Regions from separate parts of the Homo sapiens genome. Here all the other regions are linked to region 1. Evidence: promoter capture Hi-C in human tissues and cell types (Jung and others, 2019). All regions are on one chromosome and are shown on one strand. Each heading gives the region's core, a stretch centred on a gene start or on the middle of the fragment in contact. The rest is flanking DNA. Distances are from core to core; before and after follow the strand shown.

Region 1 (3,186 bases), core at 248-2,747:
CTATGGCTCTGTTGACAATTCAAGCCAACTGTGTTTTATCCCATAGCACAAACTTAATGGAGTCCCTTCCTAGAGTTAAAAGTCAATCTTCAATCTAAAATTCCACCAGAGCTATTCCCTAAAAGCTCTTTGGCATAAATCTTGTGGTATTTATACTCTGCAGAGAAGACTAAATTCCTAGCAATTTCCACTTCCTAAAGTGACTTTGGTGCACCTATAACAAACTCCTTTTCCGAACACTTCCACACAAAGCCCCAACTTACAGGCAGATGGACAATCCAGCAGCAAGACCTGCCAGCTGAGCTAGCACAGAGAAAAAGTCAACTGACATAAAATATTTAAATTGCAGGAGGCGAGTCTGGAGTTTTGCATTTAAAAAGTTCTGAAAGTCCTGTTCTCTCTGCTCCCAGAGTTGCTGGCTGCCTAGGAGGCTGAGTCTCCCTCTCTCAGGCACAAGATCTCAAATATGCAAAAACTAGAGCTGACTTGAAAGCTGAACCAGCTCCTGTCCTAAGGTAGAGTGATAGGGGGGCACGGCCGACAGCAATAGGAGAAAGTCTAGAGTCCCCTTGCCCCAAGCAACTGGTTTCTGATTTTAACACTGAAATATACAAACATGTGTCCCTCCAGGGCTAGTTCTGAGAAGTAGGCAGGTTTACTCTTCTGCCCCTTTTTACCTCGATTTTGGTGACTCTGAAAAGTAAATACAGGTCAAAGCAGACTTCCTCTAGGATTTGTAAAAAAGAAAATATATATATATATATATATATATATATATATATATATATATACACATATGTATATATATATATATATATATATATATACACATATGTATATATATATATAGCCAGATGCAAACAATCACAAAATTCCTTGGAATTATATCTCAAGAAACACCAACAGGACTGACTCAGAGCCTGTAAAACACCAGAGTTCTGGAAGAGCAACATTTCTGGAAACCCGGCATGTGAATCAAGTGCTGGGTTGTCTCAAGATTCCGGCAGAAACTGTCCTCTGCTACAAGAGTTGCTGTGCCTGGAAACCCAGCGTCCAAACTCGTGGATTCATCCTGGCGCTCATTTCCACGTACGTGGTAGTATCAAGTGGGACACTTCCCATAGAATTCAGCCAGAAACCCTAGGAAAAGCTCATGCATAGCTTAACAAAAATACACAAACACATCCCCAAGGTTGAAGTACTTACCTCTGTGCGAGACTGCAGTCTCTTGTTCATCTCATAGATTCGGTACTCTGGCTGTACCATGTATGGTGTATGCCTCCTATAAAATGGGCCGAAAGGAGAAGAATAGAAGGGGTCATGTGGTGTGCTGGACATCTTGCCTGCTTTTCGAAAATCAAGCTAAACAGAGTATCAGTAACGTCCATGCAGAGCACATGGGCTGTGTTCTTCCCAGTACAAAGTAGACGCACGCACACACGCTCACACACACACAGAGGCAGGCAGGCAGGCAGGCTGAACACGCTGGCTGGGAACTGCTGTCGGAGCCCTCTATAGCAGGAGAGGAGAGGGAGAGGAGAGGAGGGAGGGAAAGAGGGAGGGAGGGAGGGAGCACGGGAGAGGAGGGAGAGGGAGAGAGCAGGAGCTCCAGAGAGGGAGGGAGGTTGGTATGGAGGAAGGGAGGGAAGAAGGGAGGGAGGGAGGGAGGGAGGAGGGAGGGAGGGAGGGGGAGAGAGAGAGAGAGAGAGAGAGAGAGAGAGAGAGAGAGAGAGAGAGAGAGAGAGAGAGAGAGAGGAGCTGGATAGCTTTAGGCACCACTGCTTGTTTTTAAAGAAGCAGTTTGTGGAGAGGTCATTTCCTGTCCACATTGTAGACTAGTTCACAAATATAATTCTCCTCACAGTCTGACAAGAGGTCTAAGGTTTGGTTTTAATTTTTTTCCTCCAGCCAGGACCCTTCACAACCTGATTGCTAAGCTTGTTAGCATAGAGGTGGTCTAACCGCTACATGAGCCGCTCACCCCTGACAACCACACTGTTGTAATGTATCAGAAATGTTGATTACTACAAAATACAGAAACACGGGCACTGTGGTGCCCCGAATTGGGACCGGTGATTCACTCACATGCAGAGATTTATTTCAGCACTAATCTCCCTATGTAGTTTTGCTTTACTTGCTGTTGTTCCAAGGGCTGTTATATTCTTTGCCCTCCACTCCATCTCACTCCCATCTCTCCCCACTCACCCCTCTTCCCAGCCACCTCCCTCTTCTCCAAAGACTTCATTCAGGCCCTTAAGGTGCCTGGGCATTTTCAGGTAAAAACAGTCGTTCTGAATGTGGAAGGTATAAAATACACTTAAGGAGAGCAATGGTCTTTTTTCCCAGGAAGGAAAAACAAACAAACAAACAAACAAAAAACCCAAACAGACCTCCCAATAAGACAGGAAAAGCAAAGAAGGAGAAAACTGCCACAAAAATGACCACGGAAAATTTGGTTGAGAAGGAAATTGCAAATAATTGAATGGATCATCCCCAGATAACATGTCCAACTCTTATGGAGACAAAGTCTGTATTTTCCAAGATTGGTCAAGTAAACAAATATTTTCCCAACTGTGGTATATGATAACCATAAGAAATCCCAACAGCCCATGGAAGGGGAAAATCTCTATAGAGAATTAAACAATCTATAAAATAATCAAATTCTGCTAGAACCCACTATAACCAGAGATACGACACTTAAACAAAGCCCAGCCACACAAAATTTAAATGTATTGAGCTAACACCTAGGTAGGTCAGTGGTATTAAGGAAATAAAGCAAAGGACCACCAAAAAGCATAATGAATTCAAGACCTGAATGCAAATGCATGCAAATGAGACATTTCTTCTTTTTAATAAGCAGATTAATTAACTTTCTGCCCCAATCATGGCTTGGGTATCTCCAAGTCACTAGCCAACAGGGGATAGAGTATTGCTAATTCTGCAATTTACACTCTTAAAAATACTCAGACACAGAAAAGTGTATTGCTGTCTTGATCAGTCCTTCTTCATAATTGCATGAAATATTTGCTGAGTCCACCCCAAACTTCCAGCAGCGCAGCCTAACACACTAATGTCGCTTCCCAGGATGAGATTAGGGTAGGTATTACACTAAGGCTGCTTGGAACTTGCGCTAGGAGACCCCAAGGCAGGCGAGAATGCTTGGTTTCAGGTTTCATTACAAATCCG
Region 2 (3,186 bases), core at 299-2,798, 220 kb after region 1:
TATAGATTCAATGCCATGCCAGTCAACATCTTAGCAGTTATTTTGTGGATATCCAGAAACTTAATTTTACAGTTTATATGGAGAAGCAAAAGACCCAGAATAACCAACACGATATTAAAGGACAAGAACAAAGTTGAAGTACTGACATTAGCTGACCTCAAGACTTACTAAAATGTGACAATAATCAAGAGAGTACAGTATTGGTGAAAAAAAAATAGACAAACCAGTGGAAAAGAATAGAAAGCCCAGAAATTGACCCAAATAAATTAAATCAACTGATATTTGACAAAGAAGTAAAGGCAATACAATGGCACAAAGATAGTCTTTTTAGCAAATGGTGCTGAAATAACTAGACATCCACATGCAAAAATAAATACACAAATCTAGACACAGGTCTTACATTATTCAAAAAAATGAACTCGAAATGGATCACAGACCTAAATTTAAAATGCAAAACCATAAAACTCCTAGAAGATAATATAGGAGAAAATCTAGATGACTTTGAGTTTGGAGGTGACTTTTTGTACAACACCAAAGACATGACCTATAAAATAAAGAATTGATAAACTCAGTTTCATTAAAATTAAATTTTTCTCTTCTGTGAAAGACACTGTCAGGAGAATGAAAAGACAAGCCACAGGCTGGGAGAAAACACTTGCAAAAAAACATATCTGATAAATAACCGTTATTCAGAATAAACAAAGAACACTTAGAACTTAAAAATAAGAAAAGAAAAAACCCAACTGAAAAATGGGCAAAAGACTGTAAAGACACCTCAGCAAAGATGATGTACAGATGGCAAATAAACATAAGAGAAGATGCTCTATGATGTATGTCATCAGGGAAATGTAAATTAAAAGAATAAGGAGCTACCACTACTTACCTACTACAATGGCCAAAATCCAGAAAACTGACAACACCAAATGCTGTTGAGGATGTGGAGCAATAGGAACGCTGATTCATTGCTGGCAGAAATGGAAAATTGTAGAATCACTTTGGATGACAATTTGGCAGTTTTACAAAAAAACTAAACATACTCTTACCATACAATCCAGCAGTCACACTCTCTGGTGTTTACTCACAGGAACTGTAAACTTGTATTCACACAAAAACATACACACAGGTGTTTATGGCAGCTTTAGTCATAATTATTAAAACTTGAAAGCAACCAGTATGTCCTTCAGTAGGTGAATCAGTCAGTAATCTGTAGTACATCTAGACATGGAATATTATTCAGGGCTAAAAAGAAATAAACCATAAGCTGTGAAAGGACATGGGGAAACATCACTGCATATTACTAAGTGAGAGAAGCCAATCTAACTATGCTACATACTGTGTGATTCCAACTATATGACATTCTGGAAAAGGCAAAACTATGGAGACAGTAAAAGGATCAGTGGTTGCCAAGAGTTACAGGGGAAGAGAGGAATGAATAAGCAGAGCACAGCAGATTTTCAGGATAGTGATTCTGTATGCTACTGTAATTGTGGATACATATGATTGCATGTTTGTCCAAACTCATAGCATGTACAACACCAAGAGTGAACCCCAATGTAAATGCTGGACTTCAGATGATAATAATGTGTCATTGTAAATTTGTCAACCATAACAAATGTACACTCTGGTGGGGGGTGTTAATAGTGGGAGAAGCTGTGCATGTGTGGAGGAGCAGGGTTATTGGAAATCTCTGTACCTTCCCTCAATTTTACTGTGAACCTAAAACTGCTATTTTTAAAAGTCTATTAAAAGGAAAACTAAACAAAAATATGCCTATGAGCATCACCCTAGATCAACTGAAATGAAATATGTGGGAGACAGGGCCCTGGCACTGCTATTTTTTGAAGTTCCCCTGATGATTCTAATTTGCTGCCAGGATGAGAGCTGCTGTGGTAGACCAGAGGTTCTCAAAGTGTGGTTCCCTGGCAAGCAGCATCAGCATTGCCCAGGGAATTATTAGAGATGCAAAATGTCAAACCCCAACCCCAGCCTTCTGAAGGAGAAACTCTGGAATTGGGGTCCAGCAATCTGTGTTTCAACAAGCCTTCCAAGGGATTCTGATGCACACTCAAGTCTGAGAACTGCTTGGTACACCCATGATGTAAAGAGAGGAAGCATGTAGGAGTCTGTGCGGAAAGAGGTACATAGAGGCTCCAAACTTTCGTGTCCCCTCGAGTCACTACATCCTATCATGTCTGGGCCTTTATGTACTCCTGCTGCTTATTTCAGTCACTTAGAATGCTTTATGCATATGTAGAAACACAGGTACTCACTCTCTAGAGAGGGAAGACAAGGAATGCACTCTCTACCCTCCAGTGCCCCTCAGATGGAGCCTGTCACTCCCTTTGTGCACCTGAACACAGCATCGGGCCTGTATTAGTGTAACAGCCTGCTAATGAGTCTTTCTCAGACCACAAGACCCTGAGCCTCTCAAGGGTAGAGATAGCATCTTACATATCTTTGTTTTCTCAGCACTTGGCAAGGATCTGGCATAAAACAAAAAGGGGATCAGTAAGTGAATAATGAGTAAAGCTGTCTAATATAAACAATTATAATCATTATTTTCTTGTATTGACTACCTTTTCAGAGAGGAACACTTTAATCACAATAACCTTACATATACAGTCATTCTGTATATGTGCATGTCAGAAACCCCCTCAGATACCAAGCTCTGCAGTTGCCGAGGTTGCTTATATAAAATGCCATAGTATTTGCATATAACCTGTGCACATCCTTTTGTATACCTTAAAGCATCTCTTCTCTAGATTACTGATAATACCTAATACAATGCTGACACATCACTTCATTCACCCGGATTCAATGCAGTACTCAGCGCACAGCAAATTCAAGTTTTCTTTTTGAAACTGTGTGAATTTTTTTCTGAATATTTTTAAGCCACAGTTGGTTGAATCCACAGATGCAGAACCCACAGATAGGAAGGCTGACTATTACCTATTTAAACTTCCCAGGGACACCGAGGTACTATTGTCCCCTTTTCACAAAGAGGGAAAGACAGAGATTTAGACAAGTTACTAAAGGCCACATGACAAGTAAGCGGCAGAGCTGGGAGTTTGGAGTCAAGTATCTACACTGCCTGTTTTAACCACTGCACTGTACTGTTGTAGGTATTAGAAGAATTAGAATCCAGTCATGGCTAAGTAATCACTCTCTTGGTGATCTTGGACAAGT
Region 3 (3,186 bases), core at 323-2,822, 210 kb after region 1:
GTGGTTTGTTGTTTTGTTTTGTTTTCTTACATTTTCTTCGGTTATTGGCACAAGTTGCTCAACTCTCAGAAGGTGGGATCCATATATTGAAAATTTTTCATATTTTCCTTATAAAGTGAAGGTAGTAGTCAGACTGGCACTTTCTGTTTAATATTACTTTACAATTTATAGAATAGTGCTTGGTTTAATTAAGCTCTGAGCCTCAGTTATGAAATCTGTAAATTGAGGATAATATAATAATTGGGACTGGTACTACAGTACCTCATAGATTGTTCTAAGGATTAAATGAGAACATGCATGTCAAGTGCTCAGCAATGTACCTGGCATTTAATAAATGCTAGGTCTTTCCCTTATGAGATCATAAGTCTTACATGATTATTTCAATAAGCCTCTAAAGTAGACAAGAAATGATCAGTTAACCTTGTTTCATGAATGAAGATGAAGCTTAGAGGAAAAGTATCTTCCTTGGGGCCACACAGCCAAAAAGTAGAAAAGCTAGAACCTGAATTCAGAACTTCTGACTTCAATGCTCTTACTACTGTGCACACTCAGTTTCTGGGGCACACCATAGACCCCGAAAAGATACATACACACAAAAGAGTTTATGCAGATCTTTATGAGTATGTACAGCCAACAATAAAACAAATATGCTGTCTATGTACTTACATGCATTATTAGAAACATACATGCACATTTTCCCAAATCTGTTTTAATTTCCTCTTAAAATCTTTATGAATGGACTGCTAAAAGTGTATACTAAGGCCATTCATTTTTTGGCAGGTCAGGTTTCTCACAGCTCTTTTAATGTACCAAAGTGGTGGTAGAATGTGAAACTTTTAATACAGCCACTTGAATTGTCTACATATTCTTTTTAAGGGATATGAACCTTAGTTACACATTTTTTCTTCTGTATGTTTACATAGACTCCATCAGAAAGGTTTCAGCCAAGTAGCCTCTTTCCAGCTTCCAATGCCACATATTTGCAGAATGAAGAAAACTCAACTGGAGAAGAAATGGAATGTATGTGGCCGACTGGAACAGTGCTTTACTACAGCATCACCATAATATTGCACATCAGTAGAAAACCACATCCAGCATAAACTTCAGAGAAGGCAAATGTGTCATGGTGGAGACACAGGCTGTGGAGCCAAGTAGGGGTGGGTTTACATCCCTATTTGTCAGTGGAGCAAACTTGTGCCCATCTTGAGTTCAAGGCCATACATTTTAATAAAATATTTTTGTCTGAGTAGATGTAGAAATATTATATTGGTCAACATCTGCACAATTGGTATTAATTAATTGGTTGATAACTAATTATTCAAAACTCAGTGGCTTATAACACTAAGCATGGATTTTCATGTTCATGGATTTTCATGTTAATAATTTTGGCTGATCCAGGCAGGACTCAGCTGGGCATTTCTACTGCAGGGCGCTGAACCTACCTCCAGTGTATGAACTGTGTTACATTTGGGCTCAAGCCTGCAGGGCAGTGACAACTCAGTACACAGAATAACCATGTTAAGTTATGGGACTGAGCAAAACCTCAAACCAACATGTACAGTCAAATATTTGATAATGACATTGATAAATAATTATGCTTTTTATCCTTTATAATTTTTCAAATGCCTTCAATTTTAACTTTTCCTTAATTAGGAAGTAAAGATAGGTATATATTTTCATGTGGCTTTAAATAGAAATTTCCTTAAATGGCCTCATTTGGGGGGAAAATATCTGAAGTAAATATTCCTTAAAGTATAGCTTCTTAAGCTTTGCATGGATCACTTGTTAGCTTCCTAAAATGTAGATTGTCATTCAGTTCATCTAAGGTGATTCCGCAATGTTGGATTTCTGACATGTTCTCAGGGATGCTGATGATGCTTTTGAATTCCGGACAAATTTTAAGTAGGAAGGAAAATAATGCTACATCCACTTTTTTATTATTTTTGTAGAGAAAGATTTTGTTTCTCAAATGATAGTTATATGGTTTATGTAATAAAATGAAAAAAGTTTATGCAGATCAATAAAAATGTGTATTTCAACAGTTTCTAGATCATGCCAGATGAATAATAAACACTGAATGATATTCAACAAAAGAAAAACCTCAATCAACAGTTCTTAGCCTTGATACATTTCTCTGTAAAATATTGAGCAGATCATTAATACCTCAAATGCCTCAGCAAACAACCTGAAGTTCTAGCATGCACTCCCTTCAGCTCCCAGGGTCACTTCTGTTCCAGAAAGCACAGGCCTATAGCCTCTTCTGTTCTGAAACTCTTAGCTACTTTTGTGTAGCTGCTGCTTCCAACTTCCATTGCCAGGATTCCATTCTCTATCCTTCATCATTTCTTCTAGCATCAGAGATATCTTTCTGAAACTCAAATCTTACCATAATCTTCAACCACTTATCTGCAAATTAAGTTCCCTCCCAGCACCTCTGGGTTAAAGTTCAACTCCCCTCACAAGGCCTACCGGCCATTCTACATGCATTCAATCAACAAATATTTACTGTGCCATACTATGTGCCAGACGGAGTTCTACATGCTGGGGAAATCAAAGTCTCGACCTTCATGGAGTTTGCATTCCAGTAGGAAAGATGGATTCACAAGCAAATAAATGTAAATAAATCAGATATTGTCCTAGTACAGTCGTACCCCCTTCTCCTCCTGCCACTGTGCCCTATACAGTGCATACCTGCTCCCCATTTCTCTACACCCCCAGGTACATCATGTTCTTTCCTACCTTTGAGCCTATATGATTGTTGTTTCCTCTATCTAGAATGTCCTTGACTCTTCTCTACTTGGAACAGCATAATTATCTTTGAAGATACAGTTCACATGACCTGCAATGTGAAGCTTTTACATATATAGTTATTATTATTACTATTATTTTTTGAGATGTTGTCTCACTCTGTCGCCAGGCTGGAGTCCAGTGGCGCAATCTCAGCTCACTGCAACCTTTGCCTCCTGAGTTCAGGCAATTCTCCTGCCTCAGCCTCCCAAGTAGCTGGAACTACAGGTGCGTGCCACCATGCCCAGCTAATTTTTGTATTTTTAGTAGAGATGGGGTTTCACCATGTTGGCCAGGATGGTCTCGATCTCTTGACCTCGTGATCCACCCACCTCGGCCTCCCAGAGCTTTTCCATCTTAACTCCATGTAGTTATGTCCTGGTATGTGCCTAATTAAAT
Region 4 (3,186 bases), core at 511-3,010, 180 kb after region 1:
CACTCCTCTTTCTTCTGTGGCTGACAAGAAGCTTGCAGCAAATCTGATCCCTATTCACAGGCACTTTCCTAACTCCAGTGATTTGTGTGTTTGCCTCTTCATCCCCTCGTGGTGCTGACTTTTTGCTTGGCAGCCTTGCTCATATGCAGGGTCTTTTGGTTGCTATTCCCTTTCCAGGAGAGCATCCTTTCCACTCTCTTCCCATTGATAACTCCTAGACACCCTTCAAGGCTCAGCTCACACATCAGCTCTTTCGGCAAGCCTTCGTGGGTGCTTCCACAACCTTCTATTATTGCACTCATCCCAGTGCATTATAATGTTTTTGTTTATGTGGTTCCTCAACTACACATAAAGTGGGAACTCTCTCAGGATCACATAAGTGTTTTTTGTTTTGTTTTGTTTTTGTATTTGTGTTTTTGTTTCTTTTTGTTTGTTTGTTTGAGACAGAGTCTCACTCTGTCACCCAGGCTGGCGTACAGTGGCGCATTCTCAGCTCACTGCAACCTCTGCTTCCCGGGTTCAAGCCATTCTCCTGCCTCGGCCTCCTGAGTAGCTGGGATTACCAGACACCTGCCACCATGCCCTGCTAACTTTTGTATTTTTAGTAGAGACAGGGTTTCACCATGTTAGCCAGGCTGGTCTCAAACTCCTGACCTCAAGTTATCTGCCCGTCTCAGCCTCCCAAATTGCTGTAGGTGTGAGCCACCACGCCTGGCCGACATAAGTGTTTTTTATCTCTGATTTCCCAACATCGAACAGTGGATTTATGTTTATTCAATGAATAACTAAATGAAGGAATGATGCTTGTTCTTCTATTTTTTAAGCTGTAAACCACATAAAATATATTTTATCAAGGGCCCTCCTGCTATCTTTCAAGGCCTTTGCTTTCTGTATTTAGTTGTATCATTCATCACTTCCTTACATAGACCATCTGACCCAACCAACCGTAAGTCTTTACTCATGCAGCTTGCATTTCCTCCCTCACCCCATCCCCAGCTGGCTCCGCAAAACCAGACATCCCACATTTAATCTGGTGACATTGCCTTTCCCCTGACTCCACTTACCTTGCAGCCAAAAGATAATTGGATGCTTAGTTAAGATAGATCCCTGGCAGGAGGCTGGCATTGTTTTCTCCTGATGTGTCTGTATTTCGACACCTGGGTTACTCTTCGGGCTTCTCCAACTGACTCTCTGGTTTTAATTTGCCTCAACATACCATTTGGTTTCTTCAAGTAGCTGAACTGCTCCCTTCTTTTTGTCCCTGGAAGAGGGGAGCTCATTTAATAATTTCATAATGGAATGCATTTCTCTTATAAAACTGATTAATGTCCCAACTACATCTAGGAAATGAAAAAACAGATATCCCTGGAAGTTTAGTCAATTACTGATCGGCCAAATTCCTAGGTTCCATTATCGGATAGAAAAAACGAACACTGAATTTGGAGAAAAATGATCTGGAGTTGATCCTAGCTTTATCACTTGCCCATTACGTTTCTTCGGGAATGTACACCTCCTGAGATTTGATTGCCTCCTTGGAACTAATGATTCTTCTGTGCTTCATAAGATTATCACGGGTATGAAGTGATTTTACGAAGTCAAGAGTCATTTTAAAACTTTGATGGATTACACAAGCAATAGTTGTTACTATATAAGAAATTTCCACTCAAATCTGTAACTCCTACCTGACCTTTTCTTTTCAACAATGGTTATACATTTTTTAAACATGCAATATAGTTATTATCCTTCTAGCAACAAAATCAGTGAGGGCCAGCATGTGAAGTTCTAATAAATCCTGAACTCAGTGTGTTCTAATATGCACTGAATTAGTTTTTGACACACCCTCTCCCAATACCGTGTGATGTAAGGGTTGTGATCAGTCTTATAAATTTTCATATCATACGCCTAAGTGGTGACAGAAATTCTAAGCCTACCAATTCATTTGTTCAAAAATTCATTTGTTTCTCCAAATATGAATTTAGAAGTGTGCTTCCTAACTGGCCTTTAAGAAGCTGTGTATCGGCTGGGTGCAGTGGCTCACGCCTGTAATCCCAGCACTTTGGGAGGTTGAGGCGGGTGGATCACGAGGTCAGGAGATCGAGACCATCCTGGCCAACACGGTGAAACCCTGTCTCTACTACAAAAATACAAAAAATTAGCTGGGCGAGGTGGCGAGCACCTGTAGTCTCAGCTACTCAGGAGGCTGCACCAGGGGAATGGCGTGAACCTGGCAGGCGGAGCTTGCAGTGACCTGAGATCGCACCACTGCACTCCAGCCTGGGCGACAGAGCAACACTCCGTCTCAAAAAAAAAAAAAAAAAAAAAAAAAAAGAGCTGTGTATCTGGCTCTGGAAAAAGTTCTACTCAGTCTCATCACAGTGGGGCTCAAGTAGTGGATGTGATTTATTTTGTGTTGGTTTTCATCATAAAGCCCTGGTGTTGAACTTTAGCTTCTTTGATTCAATAATGATAATACTAACGAATGACAATGATTATGTTATTTTTAAGGCTTCTCTGGAGCTATGTATTTTAAGAAATTAAGGCAATTTACATGTTTTATACTTGAAATGATGGTTCGTGACCTCACTATATAAGGCATTAGATATAGCTAATTATTTGCCTGTGTTAGAATCACCTTATTTTGATATAGAAAGCAGTCTTTTTTTTACTTTGCCAGATTTTAATTTTTTTCTAAAATTTCAGTAATCTCATTATTAATTTCCAGACAGTAAATATTAATTGCATAACATTAAATACACAAAAAGTATGAAGATATTTAATAATATTTACAACCTTATTTTTGATACTACATGTCAAAATTGTTGTATATGTCCTTGCAAATAAACACACACACGCATACACATTTTTAAAGTGAAATGTATATTAAATATTTCACCTGGGACATTTTACAAATTTTTCCCTGTTTTAAAACAAATGCCTATTTATTATAAAAAATTTGAGAGGACGTTTAAGATGTTTTTACTCATTAAAGACATCTTAAAGAAAGTAAAACAACAAATTACCAACTGCAAGAATTAATTTGTAACACAATTAATTGATAAGTGACTAGAATCAAGAATATATAAAGAGTACATAAAAAGTTCCTTTAGGCCAGGCGCAGTGGCTCACGCCTGTAATCCTAGCACTTTGGGAGGCTGAGGCAGGCGGATCACAAGGTCAGGAGATCGA
Region 5 (3,186 bases), core at 278-2,777, 180 kb before region 1:
GATTCTAGAGATTATTTTAAGTAAAATCAAAGCTAATTTAAATATTTATCTTCCTTTAATTTATTAAACTTCAACTATTATAATCTCTCTTAAGCCAAGAGAGACTCAATAACTCATTCATGGTCATATAAAGTCCATGGTGGAGCCTGATGTGATGGTTGATTTTATGTGCGAATTGGCTAGTTTCTAATGTCTAGTAATTCAATCAAACCCTAATCCAGGTATATGTTCAAAAGTATTTTGTAGATGTGATTCAGTTCCTAATCAGTTGACTTTAAGAAAGATTATCCTAGATAATGAGAGGTGGAGGGGTGGTGGGGGCGGGTAGTATTAAATCAGTTGAAAGGCCTTAAGAGCAGAGCTGAGGCTTTCCTGAGGAACAGGAAATTCCACCTGTGGACTGCAATGTCAGCTCACACCTGAAAGTTCCAGCTCGCTCATCTCCATTGGCCTGCCAAATAATTTTCAGATTGCTAAGCCATCCCCAACAATCACATAAACCAATTCCTTGCAATAATTCTCCTAATATATGTCTCCTACCGGTTTTGTTTCTCTGGTTGAACCTTGACTGACACACCTGAGTTCAAACACAAATCTCCATGTCCAGAGACAGAGGCCAGCTCTGATCTTCTGGCATCATGGCAACCATCAATGTTCAACTCATCAAGGTCAATTGGTTCAATTGACTTTGTCAGGTCCCCATTAACTTAATTAGGAAGCTTTAACCATATGCACCATAAATAAGCAATATGGATGTTCGTATATTTATGTAACACTACTTCTACTATTTCTAAGACAATAATAGTAATATTAATAGTCATTAACATTTACTAAGGAATTACCATGTTGCAGCAAAGGACCAAGATCTTTAAAATCGTTATCTTATTTCATGGATAGAAGCTATAAAGCGGTAGGATCCTTCTCAATACAAGGAAGATTTTCTAAGCACAAGAGCAGTCTAAAGATAGACTAGGCTGATCCAAGAGATGGAAAGCTCTCCATCTGTCATGGAATGCAAGCCCAAGTTCAAGTCACTTGACAGGGAAGTTAGAGAAAAAATTCAGCATTGGATGTTAGCTGAAGTTGACAAACCATAAACTCCCTTATTCCAAAACTATGTCCTCTGGCAATTTACATATTTAATCTCCATCATATTTTTAAACTGTTGATAAAACTGTCCTTAAATGACTGAGTAAGTGTATGCTTGGACTGTTTGTAAAATTGGAAATAAATCAATGAACCTTATCTTTCCTTTTATAGCCTCCCATGAGGGTATAAAGATCTATAAACAGGCACACAATACATGCAAGTTAAATCAGGGTCAGTTCTTAATTATCCACATTGATAACTGAAGCAAACGGATAGATAATCCAAAATATAAGGGACAGCATGTTTTGCCTCTGGTCTTTAAATTCTGTGTCCCCACCTTTCTATGATCAGGAAGAAGTAGCTCTTGGCTTAAAAAGTATTCACTTCCTAGATAGAATTCCGGTTCTCCCTTTCACTTTTAATATCTATGTTAATTTTTTAGAATTATTAATTAAACTGAGTCCATTAAAATTAGCATCATTTTTTTAACAAAAATTTCCCCTGGGCTCTCTAAAATTCAGATCATCCAACAAAAAAACTGAGGGGGAAAATGGCAAACTTATTGCACACAAATGTATCCATAGGACATGGAGCAACAAACCTAAATTGTGAAGTGTCAGCAGATGAAAAGTACTTTGCTTCTTAAAGGAAACTCACACTGATCTGATCCTAACCACAGAGGAAGTCTCCTTGTCTCATCTTGACACTAAAACTACCCAGTTACTCTGTCGATAGGGTTGGGCACAGGCCAGTTAGTCTAGATAATCTAAAGCCGAAAGAGGGTGAAAGTACAGTGATGTTTGTCAAATGCTTCCAAGAATTTAAGAGAACTAGAGATAAGGTATGAATCATTCACTTTCTAAGCCACAGTCCATGGCTCGGCAAAGTAAATAAAAGTTTCAAATTCATTTTCATTTTGTTTAAATAAAAAATTAAAATACCATAAACTAATTTAAGACAGAATGAAATGCTGTGTCCATGAGAGGCTGCTGGATTAGAAAGTAGAACAATCTGGGTTCTAGATTCAGGTCTGTCAATAATTACCTAAGAGACGGCAGGCAAATTATGGAACTTCTCTGGGCCTCAGTGTTCTTAACATAGTAGCAGCTACTACTTCATGAAAGCTTTCTTCCATGTATTTTGGTTGTTTTTCTAAAAGCACTTTGCATTTTAGTTCAGAGAATCCTTCCAACAACCTTATAAACTAAGTACCATTAGTAAACCCACTTTACAGAGGACAAAAGTGAGGCACAGAAAGTAGCTTGCCCAGCAGGGGTCATGTTAATGGGATCAAATGGAATTCCAACCCACATTTAACCACCTGCTACACTGCCTCTCAGCTGGAAAACATGAGAGATGAACTGGGTGCCCTCTCAGGACACCTCTCAGGACCCTTTAGCTCCTTTTTTTCTGTGATTCTACAATATAGCAAAATATCTATTAAGCAGATATTTTTAAAGGGCTAGCCTCAGAAGGAAATTCCATTTGAATACATTCATCCTTTAAGATGTGTATCAACTGTCATCTCTTTTGTGCCCTAGGCAAAGATGCCATCGTATCCTAAATGAGGTGAGTATGGTTTAAATTCTTCTCTCGGCACTCACCATACTGTCTTTATCCAATCTTTCTTATCTAGTTGATTGCCAACTTTCCTACGTCAGGACCATGGTTTGTTCATCTCTGTGTGACCCAAGAAGCTGTAACATGATAGGTAATCAATAAATACTGTATTTGTTTATAAGAGGACAGAAAACTCAAGGTTCTGAGGGTAGGGTCTGTTTGGCATGATGAGAAACAGCAAGAAGGCCCAGACAGTCCTCACCTTATGATGGTTCCACTTATGATTTTTTGACTTTACAATGGTGTGAAAGCAATACATATTTAGCATGCTCCTCAATTTCTGATAGGGTTATATACAGATAAACTCTCATAAGTTGAAAATATTATAAATTGAAAGTGTATTTTTGGCTTACAGTGTACTCAACTTATGATGGGTTTTCCGGATGTAACTCCACAGTAAGTTAAGGAGCATCTGTACTGTGTTTAATATAGCATGTAAGCTGCACAGAAGGTAAGACACTTCCTAATGATGACAAA
Region 6 (3,186 bases), core at 379-2,878, 150 kb before region 1:
AGAGATTTTCCTGGGCAGGTCTGATATAATGAGGCAAGCACTTAACGTTGGAGAGTTGAAGGGAGAGGGATTCTCCTGCCTTAAAAAGACAAGCTGCTTGTTGTAGAGGGGACCCCCATGCCAGGGAGCAGTAGAAGACCTCCAGGGATGAAAGCAGCCCCCAGTTAATAGCCAGAAAAAAAAACCCAGAAACCTCCATCGTACCACTGCAAAAAAACAAATTCTGCCAACAAGCCTCAGCCCCAAATGACACCTCAGTTTCTGCCTTGTGAGACCCTAGGCAGAGCACCCAGCAACCTAGCCTGGACTCCTGATGCAGGTAAACTGTGAGATAATACATGTGTGTCATTTCGATTCACTAAGTTTTTGGTAATTTGATATTCTGCAATCGAAAACTAAAATACCTATCAAATAGATTGTCTCCAATTTTTTACACATCACTAAAATCAAGGCAGTTAATGACACTTCCCCCTATACTTGGCTCTAAAATATTTTGAAGATGATTCAAAGAACAAAATATGATATGTGGTCCTTGTAAACTAGGTTTCTTCTAGACTGTTTAAAATGAAAATGAGAGTATGGAAACTTTAGCAAGTTACTAATAAATAGACTCATGTGGTTTGTTTGTTTGTTTGTTTGTTTGTTTTAGACACAGTCTCACTCTGTCACCCAGGCTGGAGTGCAGTGGCTGGATCTCAGCTCACTGCAACCTCTGCCTCCTGGGTTCAAGTGATTCTCGTGCCTCAGCCTCCCGAGTAATTGGGATTACAGGCACCCGCCATCATGCCCAGCTAATTTTTGTATTTTTAGTGGAAACAGGGTTTCACCATGTTGACCAGGCTGGTCTTGAACTCCTGACCTCAAGTGATCCACTCATCTCTGCCTCCCAAAGTTCTGGGATTACAGGTGTGAGCCACTGCACCTGGCCAAGTCACGTGATTTTTTTTTGCTTGTTTTTTGTTTTGAGACGGAGTCTCACTCTGTTGCCCAGGCTGGAGTGCAGTGGCTTGATCTCAGCTGACTGCAAGCTCCGCCTCCTGGGTTCACACTATTCTCCTGCCTCAGCCTCCCAAGTAGCTGGGACTACAGGTGCCCGCCACCATGCCCAGCTAATTTTTTTTGTATTTTTAATAGAGACGGGGTTTCACCGTGTTAGCCAGGATGGTCTCGATCTCCTAACCTCGTGATCTGCCCGCCTCGGCCTCCCAAAGGGCTGGGATTACAGGCCTGAGACACCGCGCCCAGCCAAGTCACGTGTTTTATGAAGAATTAGGAAACATTAATTTGAATCCTGACTTTATTACCAGCTAGCTGGGTTGCCTTGAGCAAGTCAAAGCCAAGTCAATTTTTTGGTTTGTTAGCTGTACATATAAATACAGATTATAATAGCTATTACTTATTGAAAAACTCCTGTGTATCAGGGATTGTATGTATGTTACTCACAAATACTATAGTAACAGTGTCAGATAGACACTATTTTCATTATACAGATCAAAATGGTGAGACTCAGAGAAATTAGGTGTAACATCCGAGGTCATATGGTAACTGCAGGACAGGGTCGTGATTTGAAGCCAAGCTTGTCTGACTCACAAGCCTGGGCTATTTGCCTTTAAAGTGAGGGGTTATGTAAGGCATTCTCTAATTGGGTCATCCTGGAAATACAGACTGAGTATGTGATTTCCACAGAACAAGGCAGGCAGAAGGCCCTCCTCCTCTACACCTCAGAGGTAAGTCACATCTCAGTTCCTGTTGGTCCAAATGAATGCAGGCTGAGGCAATGGCAGAGACCCAGAGCCCAGGCGGGGAGACTGCGGGGATTTAAGAACTCGTTTACTTAGAACAGTGAAAAGGAAGTCAAGCGTGAACTTTCTGAGCTCCAAAGATATTCTCAGGGCCCATTTGCGAATAAGCATAAATCTTCAAATTTATCCAAAGTTTAGCAAATTCACAATGACAAATGTAACAGTTCCTCTAAATTGAAGTTCATCTCCTGGCAGTTTTGGAGGCTTGGAGAAAATGCCAGCAACAAGGACTTGGAAGGAAATAAATCTTTAGATTCCCTGAAAACACAGAGAGTTATTGTGGAAGACATATGGAGGACCCCATACTGCGTTAAGAAAGAAAATTTATAAATGTCAGCTTCATAGCAGCAATGTCGAAGGGATTTCAGCAATCCACACTTAACTACAATAAGAAAAACAGGCTGCAGGTACACATTTGCCACGAAGAACTAATTATGCTTAACCTGTGCTCTTTCTGGGAGGAGCAAATGAGGAGAGAAGGAGGTAAGTGTCCAGGATCCAGAGTAAGACATTAGAATTTTTTTTTAATCCAAACAGGTCACGTTTAAAGATTCTCTATTGTTGAAAAAAAAAAAAAAGTTCTGAATAGTGGGATGGTAAAGGGTACACAGTATGGGCCTATATGGCAGAAGAGTTGAATTCTGCATCTTTGAAGGCCTCGCTTTTGTCGTCTCTTCAACACTAATGATCAATCTGACACCTGCTCCCAGGTTTGTACTGATGATGGAATGACGCATGGTCACCAAGTACTACTCAGCAAATATTGACCATGGGCCTTTCTGTATCACAGAAACAGGCACAGTGACTACAAAGGTGAATGACACACAGTCCCCACCCTCAGTAAGCTTACAGATGGTCCTGATTTATGAAAGCATTTCATAAACTGTAAAGCATTATTAGAATGTTTATCATTTTAACTTATTAACTAATCCAGTAAGTCATTATTGAACATATTTGAAAAACACCAAGAACCAACTACGTGTCTGACTCCATTTTTTTGGCAAATTATAATATCACAGCAAGAAGTACTTACGTGGGACTAAAAATTCAAATCTGTATCTGTCTCTTTTTAGCCAAAGCCACGGCTAATATTGGACAGTCTTGATTTTTTTTTCTTTTCCAAAGGGAAAAAGGTAATAAATGAAACTGCAACTTTAAAAATGGGAAAATAGGTGGCTGGGTGCAGTGGATCATGCCTGTAATCCCAGCACTTTGGGAGGCCAAGGCGGCCCACTCACTGGATGTCAGGAGTTTGAGATCAGCCTGGCCAACATGGTGAAACCCCGTCTCTACTAAACATACAAAAATTAGCTGGGCATGGTGGCACGCGCCTGTAGTCCTGGCTACTCAGGAGGCTGAGGCAGGAGAATCACTTGAACCCAGG

The links. The method cuts DNA at HindIII sites, captures the fragments that hold promoters and counts their contacts. A contact is called where the count stands out against the background at its distance.
Region 2: a contact is called between a fragment that was not itself captured here and the fragment with the promoter of LDB2 in region 1, in 2 of the 25 tissues and cell types used here (dorsolateral prefrontal cortex and heart left ventricle).
Region 3: a fragment that was not itself captured here is called in contact with the fragment with the promoter of LDB2 in region 1 in 2 of the 25 tissues and cell types used here (dorsolateral prefrontal cortex and mesendoderm cells).
Region 4: a fragment that was not itself captured here is called in contact with the fragment with the promoter of LDB2 in region 1 in 1 of the 25 tissues and cell types used here (IMR-90 fibroblasts).
Region 5: a fragment that was not itself captured here is called in contact with the fragment with the promoter of LDB2 in region 1 in 3 of the 25 tissues and cell types used here (H1 embryonic stem cells, IMR-90 fibroblasts and heart right ventricle).
Region 6: a fragment that was not itself captured here is called in contact with the fragment with the promoter of LDB2 in region 1 in 1 of the 25 tissues and cell types used here (mesenchymal stem cells).

The regions. Positions count from the first base shown.
Region 1 is chr4:16,897,148-16,900,333 of GRCh38, forward strand. It overlaps LDB2 (LIM domain binding 2), which reads right to left and starts at 1,498. Exons shown (of 8, transcript NM_001290.5): 1 at 1,207-1,498. The coding sequence starts at 1,338. The HindIII fragment of the contact is 10,471 bases long and covers 1-3,186 here.
Region 2 is chr4:17,120,026-17,123,211 of GRCh38, forward strand. No RefSeq gene overlaps it. Among named protein-coding and RNA genes, the nearest start is that of LINC02493, 64 kb to the right of the region's middle. The HindIII fragment of the contact is 6,905 bases long and covers 1-3,186 here.
Region 3 is chr4:17,102,381-17,105,566 of GRCh38, forward strand. No RefSeq gene overlaps it. Among named protein-coding and RNA genes, the nearest start is that of LINC02493, 82 kb to the right of the region's middle. The HindIII fragment of the contact is 3,469 bases long and covers 1-3,186 here.
Region 4 is chr4:17,081,374-17,084,559 of GRCh38, forward strand. LOC105374507 (a long non-coding RNA gene) reads right to left here and starts at 1,256. Exons shown (of 4, transcript XR_925441.3): 1 at 1,065-1,256. The HindIII fragment of the contact is 8,233 bases long and covers 1-3,186 here.
Region 5 is chr4:16,719,952-16,723,137 of GRCh38, forward strand. All of the region lies in intron 2 of LDB2 (LIM domain binding 2), which reads right to left. Among named protein-coding and RNA genes, the nearest start is that of LDB2, 180 kb to the right of the region's middle. The HindIII fragment of the contact is 6,090 bases long and covers 1-3,186 here.
Region 6 is chr4:16,743,529-16,746,714 of GRCh38, forward strand. The region is part of intron 2 of LDB2 (LIM domain binding 2); the gene reads right to left. Among named protein-coding and RNA genes, the nearest start is that of LDB2, 150 kb to the right of the region's middle. The HindIII fragment of the contact is 3,381 bases long and covers 1-3,186 here.